Regions from separate parts of the Homo sapiens genome. Here region 1 is linked to region 2. Evidence: promoter capture Hi-C in 16 types of primary human blood cells and fetal thymus (Javierre and others, 2016). All regions are on one chromosome and are shown on one strand. Each heading gives the region's core, a stretch centred on a gene start or on the middle of the fragment in contact. The rest is flanking DNA. Distances are from core to core; before and after follow the strand shown.

What was found. The method cuts DNA at HindIII sites, captures the fragments that hold promoters and counts their contacts. A CHiCAGO score of 5 or more calls a contact.
Region 1: a fragment that was not itself captured here is called in contact with the fragment with the promoter of DCHS2 in region 2 in 1 of 17 cell types (naive B cells); the score reaches 6.2 in naive B cells.

The regions. Positions count from the first base shown.
Region 1 is chr4:154,347,587-154,350,921 of GRCh38, reverse strand. The region is part of intron 3 of DCHS2 (dachsous cadherin-related 2); the gene reads left to right. Among named protein-coding and RNA genes, the nearest start is that of DCHS2, 140 kb to the left of the region's middle. The HindIII fragment of the contact is 3,147 bases long and covers 1-2,875 here.
Region 2 is chr4:154,489,532-154,493,054 of GRCh38, reverse strand. DCHS2 (dachsous cadherin-related 2) reads left to right here and starts at 1,256. Exons shown (of 20, transcript NM_001358235.2): 1 at 1,256-3,523. The coding sequence starts at 1,700. RefSeq lists enhancers at 826-875, 1,678-1,857, 1,908-2,047, 1,516-2,471, 2,472-3,428. The HindIII fragment of the contact is 6,491 bases long and covers 1-3,523 here.

The DNA of each region.
Region 1 (3,335 bases), core at 53-2,552, 140 kb after region 2:
CAAATAATTTTTGAAACCTTGCACTTTTGTAAAGCTCATCTTTTTAATGGACACTAACCTATTGCTGTTGGTGAAAATAAAGGTCAAAAATAATATTAAAAGGATTTTCTGACATCTTCTACCTAAAGTTAATATTGGTAAATTTACTTTCCAATATACAAAATACATGTGATTATACCTTTTGTGATGAGATTGATAGCAAAAAAAATAGATGGTAAGTGTTGCCTAAAAATCAAAATCACAAATATAGAGATGTATAAATGGTTGCTGTGCAGTTATGGATATGTAGGTTGGCTTTAGAATAAAAATAAATATCTAAGATGTAGAAGATACCAAGTAGCAGGTATTTACATGGCTCTTACAGATGCAATGTCACTGTAAGCCAAGGCCTTGATTCTGTTTTGTGTGTCTGGGGACCAGTGTGTGCACATGACTCAAATCAGCCCCAGAAAGTAGTCAGTTGGCAAAGCATAGATGTACAGTTTCACCTTCAAGTTGAAAAAAAATTTAAAAAAAACTACAGATCTTCACAGATTGTTCTTTAATTATGTAGTCCTTTCTGCAGAGATATTTTCCAATGATTTGCTTGTTTTTGGTGCTAGTTGTTAGATGTATAATCTAAGTTGTGGCTTGTGATGAGAGCTTTCATGTTAAGGTAATTAAAATCAAAGAAATTCAGGGTAATATGTCTTGGAGATAAGAACAACTTTTTCAGAAAGTTATTGAACAGTCACCATGTGCTCATGCTACAGTTCTTTCTTTACTTGTGTCCTGTTAGCTGAGTTCCTCAGAGATCTGTAAGGTAGAGCCTACGCGTTTCCTTATGTTTCCAATGAAGAAGCAGTTGCTGAGAGAAGTTTCATGATTTCTATCAAGTAACACCAGTAGGTGGAGCAGCCAGGACCTGCTCACCTTATCACAATGGAAAATTTCAAATGAGCAGATTCCAGACTCAGAGATAGAACCAAGACTATAGAATGAAATGAAAGGAAGTGGAAGGCATTTTTATTTATCATCATTTCACAGGTATTTTATTTCTGGAACTAGCTATGCATTTTCTAACTTTTATTTTTCTAAAACTCCAAAATAAGGCTTCTGATTTATTAATTAAATAGTATTCATCAACTATCTGTTAATCGTAGCAACACGTTTAAATACATATCATGTGAATCAGCATTTGGTTACAACTGTCACACAAAAAATGCATGAGTTTTACCATAAAGGCTGTGATTTCCCTTAGTTGTTGAACCCTAAGTAGACATGAAAGGATAGTAATAATAGAAACAAAGGTTTAGTCATATTCACCATGTTTATAAAAATATTAGTTTGTGTCCATTGTCACAAATCCTCCCATGAAGTAAGGAGAAGGCAGAAATAATATGCTTTTGAAATACAGGGACATAGAAACACAGTCTGTAAATCATAATGAGTGTTGTTAAATAAAATTTATAGGAAGTCATTGGTTTGAACGGAGCTCCTGCGCTAGGCCCAACAGACCAGACCAAAATGGAGTCACTCACGCTAAAGTTTCATGGCCACCAAGCTGAAATGAAGTTGTCTATTTGACCTTCCAAGAAATCAGGAGAGAGAGGGATAATAAATAGCCAAACCCCCAAATGAGCCAATTTTAGCTGGCATGATAAGAAAGTCCCATCTGATTTAACCTTTACAAGGAAAGTAACTGTGAAATGACTTTTTGTTCCCTGTTTCTGTTTTCCTTTTCTGTCTATAAAGCCAGCCACTTCTGCTCAGCTCACTGGAACACATCGAGGTGTTTCTCAACTCTAGAATTGCAAATAAAAGCCAATTAAGATCTTTAAACTAAATTTGTTGTCATTTTGTCTTTTGGCAATATTTATTGAGCATTAACTGCCTGATTTAACTGTCATGCCAAACCTTTGATATAGGAACTAGTTTTATCTCCATTTCACAAATGAGCAAATGAATCCAAAAAAGATCAACAGCCCATAAACGTAATGAGAAAGTGACAACCAAAATGTGAACTGAGACAGTCTGGCTTCAGAGTTCCCACCTTACCATACGCCTCCTGCTGGTGTTCATGTCCTAGGGCTGCCATAACAAAGCACCACGCACTGGGTGGCTTAGACAGCAGAATCTCATTCTCTAACAGTTCTGGAGGCCAGAAGTCTGAAATCAAGGTGTCAACAGGATTAGTTTCTTCTGGAACCTCCCTTAGCTTCTGGTGTTTGTTGGTGATCTTTGGCACTCCTTGGTCTATGGCAGTGTTACTCTCATCTCTGTTTCCATTTTTGCATGTCCTTCTTTTCTGTGTCTTCTTGTGTCCTTCCTTGTGTGTGGACACCGGTCATTGGATTTAGGGCACCCTTAAAACCAGGATAATTTCCTCTTGAGATCCTTAACTAATTATATCTACAAAAACCCTTTTCCAAATAAGGTCATATTCTGAGGATCCAAGTGGACATAAATTTGGTGAGACATGATCCAACTTACTATATTACCTTTCTAAAATTATGTTATCTTAAAATAATACTCGATTCTTTTCTCAATTATTGCCAAATTTATGACCTTTCCATGGTACTCCCGCAACTGTGAGGACCACTGTCAGGTTCAGGTCTTCAAGGGTTTTGGGTTTTGCTTTAAGTAAATTATTTCCTTTAAACTGAATATTTAAATTAGTGTTATGTCTGTTGTTGGTGGTGCATTGGTGTAAATAGTGGTGTTCAGAGTTGATTCTCTCAAATGATCAGTGTTTCAAATGACAAAGTGAGAGAGAATAATAGTTAAGCCATCTGTGTCCACTGGAAATGTATTTGGGCCTCCCAAAAAGGGACTATCAGCCCACATCCCTGTTGCCAACTTGTGTCAGTATCCAGCTTTATAAAATCAGAAAGCTTTATTGAAAAGATTTTGAAATATTAACTTAGGGGAACACATTGTAAACCCCATGCAAACTATAAGAGTCTGCCACCTACAGTAGTGGGACAAATGCAAAATATACATCTATCCAGGACTGGTTTAGATAAGTCTATGGACCAGAAATCTGTACCATTTAAGTAAAGGGGCTAGACATGTTGGAATGAGTGTCATTACAGCCTCTCCCAAAATGCTCCTTGGTGGCAGGCTACCAGGTCAGATTGGCCACTGGTCAGCTCTTCCAGCGGACTTCCTATGCATGCTTTGCAGTGAAGTATTGATGCTACTCAAGTTCCTCCTACTTTCCCTTTCCCCAAAATATTTTTAAATCATTCATTATTGATTATTTCTTGGTGCATGGAATTACCCATCTAATACCTTGTAGTCCTTAGGAGAGAAGGAAGGGAACTAGTATTGTATTAAGGAGTCAGTATATGTCA
Region 2 (3,523 bases), core at 7-2,506:
GTGTGGCTGTGGATTAGCAATTACATACACCTCCGTTGCACATTTAAAAAGGCATTTTGTTGTTGCTGCAAGAAACCACTATGCAGGGCTTTTGGTCCTCCCTAAAGGAGAGAAACGGTATCTAGGAAATTAATTCTTCTCTCAGGCCCAAATGCAAAATTGCAGAAACCACTTGCTAAATATGGTCAGCCATTTTTAAGAGTCCAGAGAGTCTTTTCTCAGGCGTACTTTATTAGAGGCCATTGATCAGTTTCTACCGATTATTATAGTTAATTGAAGGGAAATCTGCGACTATGGCTATTTATTGGCATTTGCGTTCGGCTCAGACAGAAGCTAGTTTTGAAAGTGGTATCCGTAGAGTTATCCCGCTTGCACACTTCCTTGCCTAGGGGTGGTGGGGGAGCGCTGAGGGCTTGCGGGGTGTCAGCCACCAGGGCTTTCTGCTCATCAGTCAGCATCGTCAGACATCCTGGAAGTGTTATGATGGCGCTGAATGTAGAAAAAGGGTTCTCAGGGCGGATATATTGTCGTCATTCCTGGTGGCAGAGGGGAGTGACAAGAGGCTCACACGTCGCTGGGTAGTAGCACGCATAATAAAGTGTGGTTTGCACCATGTGTGCCACAGATTTCTCGGGTTTTCTGGAAGGCTTTTCCAAGTTCCGCCTTCTCCCCTTTAAAGCCATCCTGGCCCCAGCTATGCATCGGCCTTTGACTCCATCTGTCCTTCCGCTGCGGACGGGAGTCCCTCTCGCCAAATGGAGAACACAAGTTTGGCACCCCAAAGTGATGATAACCTCTACCCTCTTGGCTCAGCGCGAGCCAAGAGTCAGGCCTGCAGAGGGACGGTCAAGCGGATGGAGGGGGAGGCCGCGGAGAGGCCGCTCCTCTCACCTCCCCGCACCCATCATCACTTGGCACTTGGCCAAGCCCAGGCAGACGCCCCGCCTGCGCGTCCCCCACCCGCCCCGCGGTGCACGTCTCCCAGTGCTTTTGCATTTGCTCCTCTTCCGCCCTGCTGCAGAGCGCGGCTCGCAGGTTGGAGTTTGCCCTCGTGTGCGCCGCATCACACGGCAGGGAGGGGAAGGCAGGCGGCGGAGGCTGGGTCGGAGCAGGAGTCGCGCGGTCCCTGGCGCCCGGAGACACAGTGGGGAACCACCGCCCCGCCCCCGGAGCAGCGGACAGGGCCGCAGACCTCCCTTCCCCCCTCCCTCTCTCCCTCCTCCCCAGCGCCCTGACTCCCTGCCTCCACGCCCTTACTCCACCCCCTACTCCGGCCAGATCCCCATCCTCTCCTTGTGTGTGCGCGCTTCATATAATCTCCTCCTTTTTGGCAAAAGAAATAATGCACCTGACTTTACCAGGGGGGAACAACCAGCCGAGTAGAACAAGGAACAGATGTAAAGGGAATAAAAGGAGAGAGAAAAAGAGATGAGATTCGTTTAAAGAAATCCAGGGGCAGAAGAGGTGGCTGCCGCGGCAGAGGCAGCTAGAGCTTACTTCCCTGTCTGCGTGAGCTGCAGGCAGAGGACGCTTTCACCAGTTGCAGATGTAACCTCGGGAATTCCTGGGCCGTCGGTTTGTTTGCCAAACAAAGTCTTTTCTTCTCTGGCTCAGACACTGAAGAGGCTCCTGGATTTTTCTGCGATCCTGCCACAAGCTGGCAGTTACCCGAGAGCCTTCCCAAGGAGCTGGAGGAGAAATGAGCCCTTGTGGGCGGAAGATGGGCGAAGGGCGTCAGCAGCGGCGGGCTCCGGTCGGGAAGCTCCTTCTGCTCCCCGGGAGGAGAGATACACCCCATGGGCGGTCAGGCAGCAGCGGCGCCAGGACGCAGCGCTCCCTGCTCTGGCTCTTGGTGCACGTGTGGCTGTGGGCGGCCTCGGGCTCCTCTGCCCAGTTGTTCAACCTCACCCTTTCCGTAGATGAGGGGCTTCCCCCGGACACGCTGGTAGGTGACATCCGCGCCGGGCTGCCGGCCGCGCAGCAGCAGGAGGGGAGCGGCTTCTTTCTGTCGGAGGACTCCGATGACTCCCCGCTGCTGGACGACTTCCACGTGCACCCGGACACCGGCATCATCCGCACTGCGCGGCGCCTGGACCGCGAGCGGCGGGACCACTACAGCTTCGTCGCCGCCACGCTGCTGGGCGCTGTGGTGCAGGTGGAGATTCGCGTCAACGACGTGAATGACCACTCGCCCCGCTTTCCCCTCGACTCCCTGCAACTCGACGTCTCCGAGCTCAGCCCGCCAGGGACCGCCTTCCGCCTGCCAGTTGCCCACGATCCGGACGCCGGACTGTTCAGCACTCAGGGCTACACCCTGGTGCAACCGTCCGACCTGCCCAAGGACCCCGCAGGCCCGTTCTTCCAGTTGCGCTACCGGACTCCGGGGCCACTACCGTCACCGCTTTTGCCAGGCTCCTCGTCACCCCTGGAGCCTCTAGATCTGGTGCTGCTGCGGCGCTTGGACCGAGAGGAGGCGGCGGCGCACCGGCTGCAGATCGAGGCATGGGACGGCGGCCGACCCCGGCGCACCGGCCTCCTGAGCGTGGAGCTGCGCGTGCTGGATGAGAACGACAACCCGCCGGTCTTTGAGCAGGACGAGTACCGCGCCGCGGTGCGCGAGGACGCCCAGCCGGGCGCCGAGGTCTGTCGCGTGCGCGCCACCGACCGCGACCTGGGGCCCAATGGCTTCGTGCGCTACAGCGTCCGCGCCCGGCAAGTGCCTGGGGCGGGTAGCGGCGGCGGGGCACTGGGCGACGCGGCCTACTTCGCGGTGGAGGAGCTGAGCGGCGTGGTGCGAGTGTGGAGACCTCTGGACCGCGAGGCACAGGCCTGGCACCAGTTGGTGGTGGAGGCCCGCGATGGAGGCGCCGAGCCTGAGGTTGCCACGGTGCGCGTGTCCATCGCCGTGCTGGACGTGAATGACAACCGGCCAGCAATTCACGTGCTCTTTCTCACAGAGGGAGGCGTCGCCCGTGTCTCTGAAGGCGCCCGACCGGGCGACTACGTGGCTCGCGTCTCGGTGTCTGACGCGGACGGTGACTGGGAGAAGGAAGATGAGGCCACAGGGGAGCTTGGTGTGGGTCTTGGAGACGGGAGCATCTCTCTGTCCTTGGAAGGCGGAGAGGGAGACTTCGCGTTGCTACCCGGCGGCCCCCCAGGGGTATTTTTCCTTTGCGTGGAGGGGCCCCTGGACAGAGAGAGCCGCGATCTGTATGAGTTACTACTGGTGGCCACGGACGCGGGGTCCCCGCCGCTGAGCACGGAGGAGACGCTGCTACTCCGGGTCGCTGACCTCAATGACCAACCACCTCTCTTCAGCCAACAGCATTACAAGGCCTCAGTGTCCGAGGCCGCGGCCCCTGGCACTGTAGTCATGTGGGTCAGCGCCTCCGATGCCGACGAGGCAGGCAGTGATCACGCCTGGCTGCGCTACACTGTAGTCCAACTCTCGGCTCCCTGCAATCTCGGCTCCCTGCAATCAAAGATGGTCCACACCGCAGAGTGTGGACCATCTTTTGCCATT